Regions from separate parts of the Homo sapiens genome. Here region 2 is linked to region 1. Evidence: promoter capture Hi-C in 16 types of primary human blood cells and fetal thymus (Javierre and others, 2016). All regions are on one chromosome and are shown on one strand. The core of a region is centred on a gene start or on the middle of the fragment in contact, and the rest is flanking DNA. Distances in the headings are between cores, read along the strand shown. Region 1 holds the start of INTS12 (integrator complex subunit 12). Region 2 overlaps ELOVL6 (ELOVL fatty acid elongase 6).

What was found. The method cuts DNA at HindIII sites, captures the fragments that hold promoters and counts their contacts. A CHiCAGO score of 5 or more calls a contact.
Region 2: a contact is called between a fragment that was not itself captured here and the fragment with the promoter of INTS12 in region 1, in 1 of 17 cell types (fetal thymus). The highest score is 7.2, in fetal thymus.

The regions. Positions count from the first base shown.
Region 1 is chr4:105,705,054-105,711,495 of GRCh38, reverse strand. It overlaps INTS12 (integrator complex subunit 12), which reads left to right and starts at 2,807. Exons shown (of 8, transcript NM_020395.4): 1 at 2,807-2,858. It overlaps GSTCD (glutathione S-transferase C-terminal domain containing), which reads right to left and starts at 2,712. Exons shown (of 12, transcript NM_001370181.1): 1 at 2,480-2,712. LOC124900747 (a long non-coding RNA gene) reads right to left here and starts at 5,114. Exons shown (of 2, transcript XR_007058214.1): 1 at 5,073-5,114; 2 at 3,400-3,595. LOC124900748 (a long non-coding RNA gene) reads right to left here. Exons shown (of 3, transcript XR_007058215.1): 2 at 6,106-6,182; 3 at 5,522-5,617. RefSeq lists an enhancer at 2,483-2,732. The HindIII fragment of the contact is 4,662 bases long and covers 1,701-6,362 here.
Region 2 is chr4:110,191,298-110,197,739 of GRCh38, reverse strand. The region is part of intron 1 of ELOVL6 (ELOVL fatty acid elongase 6); the gene reads left to right. Among named protein-coding and RNA genes, the nearest start is that of ELOVL6, 4.1 kb to the left of the region's middle. RefSeq lists silencers at 459-1,088, 1,289-1,398 and an enhancer at 1,133-1,427. The HindIII fragment of the contact is 1,138 bases long and covers 2,778-3,915 here.

The DNA of each region.
Region 1 (6,442 bases), core at 1,558-4,057:
ATTATGGTTTATATTTTCAAGCTTCTTTCCATGAAAGGTAAAGGATTTATATTGATTGAAAAGTTTTTCCCAACCAAATACTGAAAAAAAACATATTTGTTACTGAGGCTGAAAGCCAGGGAATCATGAAATGGTAAAATATAAACGTGAAACCCTTAATCCATGTGCATATCAACCTATTGTACAAAATAAGAAGTTCAACACAGTTTATAAGTATGAAAAATCACAAACACTTACTTTTCTTAAAGATTAAAATTTAAACCTGCCTAAATTCTCTCCTACATCATATGTTCAACATTTTGAATTTTATAACTTATCTTGTGTTTTATGCTTTTCATAAAACAACAGTATTTGGCTGAAAATTGTACCCTATTTTATTACAATAATATAGATTTAACCAAAACAAAACAAAACAAAAAAACATGCCCCTCAACAGATAGATAGCAGCCAATTACCTTAAATATTTAGGGTCAAAAACGATAAGAAAAACACTGAGATTTTTTCAAGCTCATTAAATACGTAATATGGGATGCAGTTAAGTCCTAGAGAACAAAAGCCAGTGATTAAAATTAGCTGTTTTCTTATCTGGTAAAGAAGTAGGAAAAGTTTTTAAGTGAAAAGCTTACAGTAACCTTAGCCACAAACGAAGTGTGTAATCTCTCTGGAGAATCAGGGAATCATCTGTTGCCATGGAGTCATAATGCCTTCAGCTAAACCCGACCTCATAATTAACAGTGATCGACAGCGCAAATGGCTAACATGTTACCAAGTATGAAATAAAATTACTGAATTTTCACAGCAAACAATACCTGTGCTTGTTTTAATCTAAATGGTTTCAATATCTGCATTCCAAGTATTTATTCTTTGTTAGAAAAGCTAATTGGATACTCAGTATTTATTTTTATTTAAAAATCACAGATGATGAAACAAAAGCTACAAGTAAAACAAGTTTAAAAAAACAAAAACAGGCCGGGCGCGGTGGCTCACGCCTGTAATCCCACCACTTTGGGAAGCCGAGGCGGGCGGATCATTTGAGGTCAGGAGTTTGAGACCAGCCTGGCCAACATGGTGAAACCCCTCCTCGACTGAAAAAAAAAAAAAAAAAAAAGGAGCCGAGTGTGATTGTGGGCGCCTGTAATCCCAACTACTCGGGAGGCTGAGGCAGGAGAATTGCTTGAGCCCGGGAGGCGGATGTTGCCATTGCAATCCATCCCCAGGCGACAGAGCAGGACTCCAGCTCAAAAAAAAAAAAAAAAAAAAAAATTGATGGGCCCACTACTACAGAAGCTCAAGTTTGAGCTGTGTTTAAATTAAAGCAAAAACACGTAGAAGTGCAAAGTATATAAAATAAAAAGAAATGATGATTCTCAAATCTCATTGACCTTTTCAGTCTTATTTTTGAAGTGAGACCTCACAAAACGATACTTTCAGGTGTAATACAAACACAATTTTTAGTAATGAGTGTGCTTAAAGCAATCCTCTCAGTGGTGTATGCTCCCCATCAGGCAGTTAAAAAAAAAGAAAAAAAAACCCGCATAGCTTAATGTTTATTAAATATGACAGCGAATCACTTAGTTGTGTTATAACAGTTTATTATCATGGATTTAAATGACTATGTTTACATGTTTAAAATTATCACATCACTAGTTCTTGCTAGCTTTTGCATTTTCTCCTGTAAACATTGTTTTTACAGATAAGCTTAGGTAAAATAGAAATACACCACCTTCTTTATCAATAATGTAGCACACAATATATTACTAAAGCTGGCATTTTCTTGATATTCAAGAATTTATGACAAGGAATGGGATCCTGGCATTAAGAATAAAGGGGAAAAAAACAAGTCATCTCATCCCAAAACCAGGTAGAAAGTTGGGATGGGAAGTACGTGTATTAGCAAACGTTTTTGAAACCAAAGCAACTTTCATGCAAATTAAACTTTCTATAGAAGTTAAAAACCCAAGAGATACTGCTGTGATGACAAAACATAAGCAAATGGCCCCAAATGAAGCAAGTCCTTTGGAGTAAATGTTAAGTAGTATTCACATAGAACTGCTTTCTGCAATCAGGAAGGGCTGGAATGGAAAACTCAATGCCAAAGAGAGAAGAGAAGTTAGTGTGACCCAAGAGGTCTTGAAGTAACACTTAACAGCAAATATCAAACCACCCCAACCAACGCCTCCAACTGGAAGCTGCCCCATTTCTCCATCAGCAGAGGAAGACATGAGGGACTGGCTAGGGGGAAACTGGGAAACGCGTACTACCGAGAAGCCCAGAGCCCTCAACCCGCACCTTCAGCAGGAGTGGCCAAAAAGGAGTTTGAGGCGGCCCCAGGGCGGGAGAAAAATCAGGACGATGATACCACGCCCTTGTCCTTCCCACCCTTCCCCCGCATCCTCAGCCCTGCAGACCCCCGAAGAAAAGACCAGTTCTTAGGGGGTCGCGGAGGCTGAGAAGCCGGCGGCCCGAGCGCCCTCTTTACCTGGTCGCAGAGGCGCGGCCAGGCAGGGAGGGTGCGTGAGCGTGTCGGCGACCTGGGCCGCCTGCGCCTTCCCGCCCAGTCCGAGCTGGAATTCCAAGGCTGCCTCTGGGAGCTGCTGCCCGCAGACCACTCGCCTCCACAGACGCCAGGAGAAAAACGACAGCCACCTTATGTGGAAAATACTCGCGCCGGCCGTCATTCATAATCCGGCGGACCGGAAAAAGGGAAGTAACGTCACTTCCTACTGTCGCACTGCCAAACGTTTCCCCCGCCCCTACTGTGGGAACCTTTGTTTTCCTGCTTTCGGAGCCGGCCAGTGCGGGAACCGTTTCCGAAGGGACCACCGGGAACAGACGGATCGGCAGGGCGGGGCGGAACGGTGAGTTATGCTGAGCGACTCTGCTCCTGGCCTCCTGGAGGCTCGAGACCCCCGCGCCAGGAGCGAGGTGGGAGAGTAGCTACGTGGGGTATTAGTTTCCTCGCTCCTCAAGGGGAATCATAATTTACGGGCGGTTGCGTGCCCTAGACTGACTGCTCTCCCCTTTCAGTGAGGACTGTGCTTCCTCCGAGGGAGTTGCGGGCCGGGACATGCGGACCGAGCATATTTCTAGGTCTAGGGACAAGGGACTTGGAATCCTGCCTCGGACTTTGTCGGAGGGTTTTAGTGACTTCTCTACGTAGCTCCCTCATTGTCTCTCATCTTTTGGCTCCCCTGTCAAGGACCATCCCCCATTCTAGGACTTCGATGTGTGATGCTTTGATCAAAGGATTGACATTCCTTTTCTAAGTGTTTGCTGTCAGCTTTCAGCCACTTGATTGGTTTGGAATCGGAGCCTTTTCTCCTGCGATTCCAGGTGTCCCTAAGGTATCAGTGTTATCCAGAACCAAGAACTCAGTGGAGGAATGAAAAAGGCAGCATCTTTAAAATAATGTTTATTGGAAGGGGTTGCAAGAGCTTGCGAAGTCATGAAGAACAAAGTTTTTTAGAGCCATTATGAAATGGCAACGATAATACTGCACTCTATGTGAACAGTTTCTGTTTCCTTCATCTGGGGCACGTGCATATGATCAACTTTGGACTTCTTTTGAGATTGCCAGGTAGGGTGAAAAATGGATCTAGGAGAAAGCACATACTTATATTTATATATGAATGCCCAATTTAGACTGGAGAGATCACAGAAGCCTTATAAGGTGACATTTACGCAAAAAACCTAGTTCGTTCATTCGATAAATATTTTTGAGCCCTTATTAAGTTTCAAGCACTAGGGAAATAACAGTGAACAAAACAAGTTCCTGCTGTCATCAAGTTTACAGACCAGTGGGATTAATGAATTAAGCAAGACAGGCGAAAGATTGTGAGAATTTTACAGATAGGAACATTGTACTACAAGTCCCCAGTCGTGAAAGAGGTGATTGCTTTGCTTTTGCTTTTTTGATGTTTGGAGTTTTTTTTGTGGGGGCAGGGGTGAGTTACTTTTGTGATTTTTGCTGAAGGGACCTTGGAAATGGCTACAATTGTGTAGAAGGAGAGATAAGACCACTATACTTTGATCACTTAATTCCAGTAATTCTATAGCCATTATTTTGTTGTACTTTGCAAAGTGGCAAAGAGATAGGCAAAAAGATAAATATAGACTCTGCCCTTAAAGTACTCAGAGTTTTGTAGGGGACATAACACTTGTGCCAAAAAAAAAAAAAAATGCTTCAAGGGAGAAAGTTGCAATACCATGAAAAAGCACTATGAGATATCCTTGAATGGAGAGACTATTAATAGGGTTTGGAATGGAGAGGGGCACAGCAGCTGTCAGTCAAATCTTCATGAGAAGTATTTGAATAGGGTCTTGATAGGATGTAGATATATAAAAATAGGTAAAGAGCTTCCTGGACAAAAAAAATAAGAGTGGCAGGGTCAGCTAGCTATAAGGCAGATCTGGGGATGATGAATGATAATTTTTGTGCCAGTTACTGAATCTTCTTAAATGCTAGGCCAAGAAATTTGGTCTTTATTTCGAAGGTGGTAGAAAGCCCTAACTTCTCAGCAAGAATTTTTTTTTTTATTTTAATGAAAAAGAAGAAAACTGGGTTTCAGGAAAATTCATATGGCAACAATGTTGAAGTCAAGGAAAATAACGAGGTTATTGCCATAGTTCAAGTAAGCTAATAAAACCTGAATTTCAGTAGTAGCAGTGGAAGTGAAAAGTAGGACAAGTGTGAAAAATATTGCCGTCAGAATCCACAGGAATTCTGATTATTTGAATATAAGGAGTAGGGAAAGACTCAGTGAAGGAAAGACTTTGGTCTCAAACCTGACTAAAAGAAAGTTGTGTCATTTATTGAAAGTAAGAGCAGGACAAGGAACTTTTCGGGAAGATAATCAGAATCTCAATTTTAGTTGTAACTGAATTTGAGATGCCATTAAGGAATCACATAGACACATACACTAAGCATTTGGAAACATGGGATTCAAATTTAAGAGATTTGGCTCGCACTTGTAATCCCAGCACTTTGGGAAGCCACAACAGGAGGATTGTTTGAGACCAGATAAGAGCAACATAGCAAGACCCTGGCTCTACTTAAAAAACAACAAAATTACCTGGGCATGGTTACGGTGGTGCATGCCTGTAGTCCTAGCTGCTTGGGAGGCTGAGGCAGGAGGATCACTTGAGCCCAGGAGTTCGAGGCTGCAGTGAGCCATGATCTCAGTGCACTCCAACCTGGGTGACAGAGCAAGACCATGTCTCAAAAAAAAAAAAAAAAAAAAAGAGATTGAAGTTGGGGTAAAACATATTAAATCATCTACCCAGAGATGATAGTTGAAAACCTGATGTGTATAAGATTACCAAGAAGAAACTGCTAGCAGAACTAAGAAGATAGCCAAGGACAAATACTTGGACAATACCAAAAGCAACAAAGAAGATAAGCCAAAGAAAGAGTAGTCAGAGATAGAAGAGGAAAAACAGAAAAGTTGAGTATAACAGAACTCAAGGGAAGAGAAAGTTTTATGAAATTGGAAGTAGATAACAAGTATTTACTTGGCCAACATTTACAGTTATTTGCTGTTTTCCAGGAACTCTGCCAGACAGGGGTTACAACAGTAGGCAAGACCAATCCACTGCCTGCCTTCATGGAACTTACATTCTAATGAGAAAGAAAGATTATTTACATAATTAACAGTGTGATTAATATTACAAATAAGTACAGAATGTTTTTGGGCTATGTAACAGTGAAACTTCTAGTTTTGTTGAGGGAATGTGCAGGAAAAACTGAAACTTGAGAGGTGACTTAAGATGGAGGTGGGGGTGGCACACTTTCTACTGAAGTGCTAAGGTAAGAAAGAGTATATTGGAGGACTTGAAATAAGTCAGATAGCTATAACAGAGAGAGTGAGAATGGCCTAAGATACTAGGTAACATTTAATGAGTGTCAACTATGTGTCAGGTACTGTTGTAACTGCTTTATATGTATTATTAATCATGTAGAGCAATGGTCCACAACCTTTTTGGCACCAGGGACCAGTTTCATTGAAGACATGGTTTCAGGATGATTCAAGTGCATTACATTTATTGTGCACTTTATTTCTCTTATTACTACATGGTAATATATAATAAAATAATTGGACAACTCACCATAATGTAGAATCAGTGGGAACCTTGAGCTTGCTTTCCTGCAGCTAGACGGTTTCATCTGGGGATGATGGGGTATACTGTGACAGATCATCAGGCATTAGATTCTCATGAGGAGCACACAACGTAGATCACACACATGCACAGTTCACATAGGATTCGCATTCCTATGAGAATCTAATTCCACCAGTGATGTGACAGGAGGCAGAGCTCAGGTAGTAATGCAAGTGATGGGAGTGGCTGTAAATACAAATGAAGCTTCCCTCGCTTGCCTACTGCTCACCTCCTGCTGCATGGCCTGAAGGTTAGGGACCCCTGATGTAGAGAATTGGAGACCTTG
Region 2 (6,442 bases), core at 2,097-4,596, 4.5 Mb before region 1:
CCTTTCTCCTTGCAGCGCTCCTACTTCACCGTCCTCCTCTGTCTGCCGCTCCTCAGGCGGATGCCCCCTTTTTAGTACCCCTTTCCCCACGCGGTTCCCTTTCCGGTTTCATAGAGAGACCGGGTGGGAGGGAGGAGGGGACAATGAAAACAGTAATAAATGAATGAACCCGAGCGAGTGGAGCCACGCCATTATTAAGTTTCTGTTTTACGGAAACGCCTTTTGGACACACTTCTAATTCTGTGCGTAGCTGCTGATTGGAGTTCAGGCACACAGATTAAAAGCCCCTCCGTCTGCAGAGTCCTTAGGGGCTCTTCCCTAGGAAACTAATAATCAGGGAAAACACCTTTCTTGTTTACTGTAGTCCCCCCGCCAGACCTTTTGAAAATCCCTGTGTGGGAGGCGATCCAGTGTCACCTTGCAATATTTAACAGAGGAGGGTGTGCTCATCTCGCTTCTTGTAGACAGGGTTGTGGCAGAGGCATTCCTCTCCTCCCCTTAACTTCGGGTCTGGCGATCTGTAAAGTTCAAGCCCAACGCACCCCGGAGCTAGGCAAGGGGCCGGCAGCCCGGGGGATGGCTTGACCGGGGAGGGTCGGGCCGCAGGGTCTCCCGGGAGCCGGGGGATTCCGCCCGCCGCGTGCGCGAGCGCGCGTGCCCCGCGCCCTCCCGCCTGCCCTCTTCAACTGGAAACCAGAAACGCCGGCGCGCCTGTGGCCTGGGCGGGTTGGTGCAGTAGGAGCTGGTGCCACGGGGCCGCAGCTGCGAAAAGGGGGTTTCAACTTCCTGTCCTCCAGCCCCCTGGAGTCGCCGGCCAGTGTCGGGAGGCCCGGCCGCCGCTTCCTTCTCCTCCCGCCCGGCCGGAGCGCGCCCACTCCCAGCTTCCCGCGGGCTGGTCCGGGCCCCAATGGCCATTTGCGGCGGCTGCCGGGCGGAGCCCGCCTCCTGGGCCGCGCGCACCGGCGGGGCAGGCCTGCTTGGGGTGAGCTGCGGCGTGGCTGGTGGCGGCGGTGGGCTAGGGGCCCAAGGGCCGCGTCTGGCCCGAGCCGGAGCCTAAGAGGCGGGGACGCGGGCCGCTCGGAAGGACTGGAAGTGCAGCAGCCACACAGGCACAGGGCTGGTGCCCTCCCGGGCCGCTGAGGCCAGGGGGTGCAGGGGTGGGTCCGGAAGGAGGTTGGACACTAAGGGTCGAGACCGCAGATAGACCTCGGCGTTTCGGGGCAGCCGAGGCCCCTCGAGCCCCACCGCCCGGGGTCCTTCTCTGGATGCACTTCCTCCTCCCGCTTAGGGGGTGGTGCTGGAGGCGGGGAGGGGGCGGTGGCCGGAGCCGGCGGGCGCCGGAACCGCGCTGCTGGCTAGCCCCGGGCCCGGGTCTTCTCCGCACATGTTTGTCATATCCTCCAGCCGGCCTGTTCGGGCCCACAGTCCTCCCGCATTAGCCTGTGTGGTCAGTGTGGTCAGCATTTGCTTCTGTGCCGAATCTCTGACTTGCTGCGTCCTGGTTTAACCTGCTCTTCCGGAGTCCGCTTTCCCTCGCTTTGCTGGCTGACCCCATTCACTGTACGCCCGCCATTCCTAGCCCACTGCAGTCGATACTGCCTCTTATTTACTTGTTGCTTTTTCTCTGAGGCCACTTCCTAGGCCTGCTTCAGGTACCATTTCCCGCCTCTTCTCTCCATTCACTCAGTACTGAGCCAGACAGGTCTCAGCCCTCGTGGGACTGAAAATGACAAAAATGTGCCAACGTATCTACTCCTGTTAGGTTCTGACCACTGTTTCCTCCTAGTTCTTTATCTGTACCTTTCTTCTGGCAATATCCTTTACTGTTATATACATGGTTATTAACTTACAGACCATCAGCTCTTCAGGTTACGGTTCTTGTCATCCCACTCTTGATTCTGCAAAGCACCTAGCAGAGTGCTTTGCATAAGGCACATTCTTGAGAAAATGTCCAGTGAGTTGAAATGGTGATTGGTGCCCATTTTATTGCCAGCACTACTCGTTAATACCCGAAGGTTAACAGGCTAGAACTTGCATACCGTGGCAGAGTCACATCTTGGGATTTTTCCCTTCCTGGCTTCTGCTCTCTGTTGATGTTATGTTCTTAGATTGCTTATTGCAGTCAAAGAACCCTGCTGGCTGTTACCCCTCCCTTGCAACTCTTCCTGACCCTAATTGTCTTACTTTCATGTTTTTTTTTAAATGCCAGATTTTGTGCATTTCTCCCAATATCCCAGGGTGCCCAATTTTATCTCTCCTCCCTCCCCAAAAACTGTACAGCCAAAAAGACTTTAAACACTTTTTAAAATTTAATTTTATTAGCCGGGTGTGGTGGCTCCTGCCTGTAATCCCAGCACTTTGGGAGGCTGAGGTGGGTGGATTACCTGACGACAGGAGTTCGAGACCAGCCAGGCCAATATGGTGAAACCCCATCTCTACTAAAAATACAAAAAAATTAGCCGAGCGTGGTGGCGGGTGCCTGTAATCCCAGCTACTCGGGAGGTTGAGGCAGGAGAATTGCTTGAACCCGGGAGGTTCAAATTAAAGCTTTTAGTTTTTATTTTTAATAGAATCCAGCTAATGCAGGACAAAAAGTCTTGAACCAGATTTTCTTTTCACTCCCTTTTTAATAGGAGAAGGGAACTCCATAACCAAGGCTTAGACCCTCTTGAGGAGAGAGGAACTTGAGGAAACCATAAAATCTTACCTTTTTCAGACTCATTAACTTAAAATGGTTTGAAATAGCTTCTGGAGGAAAAACATGATATAGTGAAGCTTCTACTCTGTCTTTTGGGAATTTATGGTTGTCCTTATAAATCTCTTCTTAGTAACAGGCAAAACTTGTTAATTTAGAGAATTAAAACATCCTCTCTCAAAAGTGAACTACATTGGCTTTTGAAGAACTGTGAGAATGGCCAGGAGTAGTATTTTGCCAGTATGCTGCCTTTGCTAACTAGCATCATTTAAGAGGACCTAAAATAAGAATACTTTATTAAACATACGCTATAATCCATACTTACTAACCATAGCGCAAATTAATGTTAACATACCCTATAATCCATACTTACTAACCATAGCACGTGTTAATGGAATGGGGCCCGACTTTTGGAGTAGCATTTGTATAAACCCTAAAGGGTTCAACTGAGGCTAGTTTTCAAGTTTATTGCTGCTTTAATGAATCATTAACCTCATACTCATTGGCCTAGCCATGAAAGTAAATACTGCAGACTTTTTTTACTTTGCTAGCAAAAAGTTTCATATATAATAGGTTAGAATAGCAATTGAAATGCAAAGTAATAAGTGTATTCCCTTGTAGAATCATCCTGGGCCTCATCTTGAAACTACATGTCCAGTGAAAAATATCCTGTCTGGTTATATTATCTGGTCAATGAGAGTTTATTACATGAGGTAGAGAAAAATGTCTGCTCATAGGTCCAAATAGGAGTTTTGAATTCTAATTTTCACTGAAAAGTCCTTGCAATTTTACAACATTGAAAATAGAGACATTTTGCTCTTTTATGAGATGTCTGGCCTTTACCTGTTTTTCTCACTAAGAGCTGACTTAAGTTGGAAGTGCTGCTAGCCAGGGAGCAAAATCACCTGGTGATTGCTAAGGCGACATATAATTCATTGAGTGAGAAGGGAAGCTGGGCTCTCTCTGCCTTCTCTTTCAGCAGCCTGCCAGGTTTGTGCTAACAGCAGTGGATGCTAGTTGCTCCAGTTGTAATTGTCTAGCCAATGATGATTATCTTCTGATGTCGGCTGACACGGTGCCCACCAATAGGAAAGCAGGAGGCCTGTGCTGACTGCTGTAACATTATGTATGTGAGGTGACGTCTTCAAAGGGCTTGCCTAGAACTTCATGAAACCCTCCCCCTCTCCTGGCATTCTCCACACATCCAGCCTTTCAAAGCTTTATATATTTTTCTGACTTTTCTCCCCACTCACTCCCTTGGTGGTGTAAAAGGGTTTACTTGTTTTAACATTTTGTATTCTGTATTATAGAGTCTATAAGATAGTATAGGAATTTTAAGAATTAAATGCTGTTCAGCTGAGGAAGCCTTTTTATTCACAAATTTGTTTTTACCAAAGGTAAAAATGGAGTGAAACATTTTATTTTATTTTGTTTTATTTTTGAGACAGGGTCTCACTCTGTTGCCCAGGCTGGAGTGCAGTGGCACAATCTTGGCTCACTGCAACCTCTGCCTCCGGGTTCCAGTGATTCTTATGTCTCAACCTCCCAAGCAGCTGGGATTACAGGTGCCTGCCATGACACCAAGCTAATTTTTGTATTTTTAGTAGAGATGGGAATTCACCGTGTTGGTCAGGTTGGTCTTGAACTCCTGACCTCAAGTAATCCGCCCACCTCGGCCTCCGAAAGTGCTGAGATAACAGGCTTGAGCCACTGCAACCGGCCGTGAAACATTTTAAAAGGAGTTGTACATCTATATCTTTTTTGTAGGTGAAGTTTGGAAAGTAACACGATGTACAATTTCATGATTAAAGAACATAAAAAGCACTAAAAACCTGTGTTAGCATTTAACTCAAATATAGCAGCATAAAAAATATAGCAGCATAATGTTAATGAAACTGTTCAAATGCAGACATAGTATTTGGCTGTTGTTTTTCATTTAGTGAGGATTGCTTTGAATTGCTTCCTGAAGTCTTCCTTGCAACCTTCTACATTCATTTGTAAGAAAAATGGCTGGAAAACAGTGCATCTGTGACTATGGAACAGAGTAGGCCAGAGTTTCATTTCATCATTAACATTGCAGCAACAAATTTGGTCAGCTCTGTAGGAATATAGTGTGTCTATATTGTACTCATGTCACTTGCTGTTTATTTTGAGGTATCACAGTTCATATTGATTTAGGATTAAAACTTGTGTGAGGATCATAACATGACATTCAATAATTTTTAGAAAGCACTGGGATGTAGGCATATGTACTAGGTTAAGAGTGAGAAGAATGAGAAAATACATAGAGAAAAAACGTGTAATCTGTGTGGGGTCCTAGAAAATAATGTAAAGTTGTGCTGGAGCTTTGATATGAACTTTCATGTATCTTTTAATAAATTATAAATATTCATGCAATTCTTGTTTAGGATTCCAAAGGATGAAAGCCAGCTTAATGCAAAATATTTTATGATTATATTATCCATCTGTGTATTTGTACTAGTTATAATTAGTGCTTAAAATTTTTTCATGAAGTCTTTTTCACATTGGAAGTAAAATTTTGTGATCTTCAGAGGATTGCCTGTTGCTTTTTTGTTTGAGGGTGATTCTAAATGTGTCAAAGTGTATAACATTGGAACTTAATGAAACTTTTCAAATGCAGACATAGTATTTCACTGTTGTTTTTCCTTTAGTGAGGATTGCTTTAAATTTCTTCCTGAAATCTTCCTCGTAACCTTCTGCGTGCATTTGTAAGAAAAATGGCTGGAAACTTCAAAGTCAACTTATTCCATATCTAAGAGTTGCCTTATATACTTCCTTGAAAGAAGAATCTTTCTTTTTCTTTTTTTTCTTTCTTTCTTTTTTTTTTTTTTCTTGGATGGAGTTTTGCCCTTGTTGCCCAGGCTGGAGTGCAATTGTTCCATCTCGGCTTACTGCAACCTCTGCCTCCTGGGTTCAAGTGATTCTCCTACCTCAACCTCCTGAGTAGCTGGGTTTACAGGCATGCGCCACTACACCCGGCTGATTTTTTTGTATTTAGTAGAAACGAGTTTTCACCATGTTAGTCAGGCTGGTCTCGAACTCCTGACTTCAGGTGATCCACCTACCTCGGCCTCCCAAAGTGCTGGGATTACAGGTGTGAGCCACCATGCCCGGCCAGAGGAATCTTTCAGCTTAGATAGTGGAAGAGTTATGAGGGGGACGGAGGTTTTGAAATACTTAGGGGGATATACAATAACCATCTAATCAATTTTCTTTTTCTTTTCTTTTTTTTGAGCCTGGTCTTGGCTCACTGCAACCTCTGCTTCCTGGGTTCAAGCCTCAGCCTCCTGAGTAGGTGGGATTACAGGTGCCCGGCCCCCCATCTAATCAGTCTTTAGACAACAAAGTAAAATGAGTGTGGCACCATTCTGGCAATTCAGGAATTTATCTTGGCTTAAGTGATCTGAAATATTTCAGGTCCAAGTATTTTATTTTCTGAAATGAGTTAACCAAACATTGTCTTAATGATTAACTTAATTTTTCACATATGGACACAGGTGAGCCAAACTGTCCTTTATTAATAGGAACCAGACATCATTCTACAAAGTTTGCCTCAGCCCTCCCTTTACTCTTTATGTAGCTCACATCCACCCGCTCCCATTTACTTCTCATTTATCTTTTTTAGGAGGGTTTAGGGAAAGTTACCTGTACCACATATGTCATTTCTGTTGATAACCCTAGGTAATCTGAGTGAAACTATGACTTGGCTATATTGTAATGTTAAAA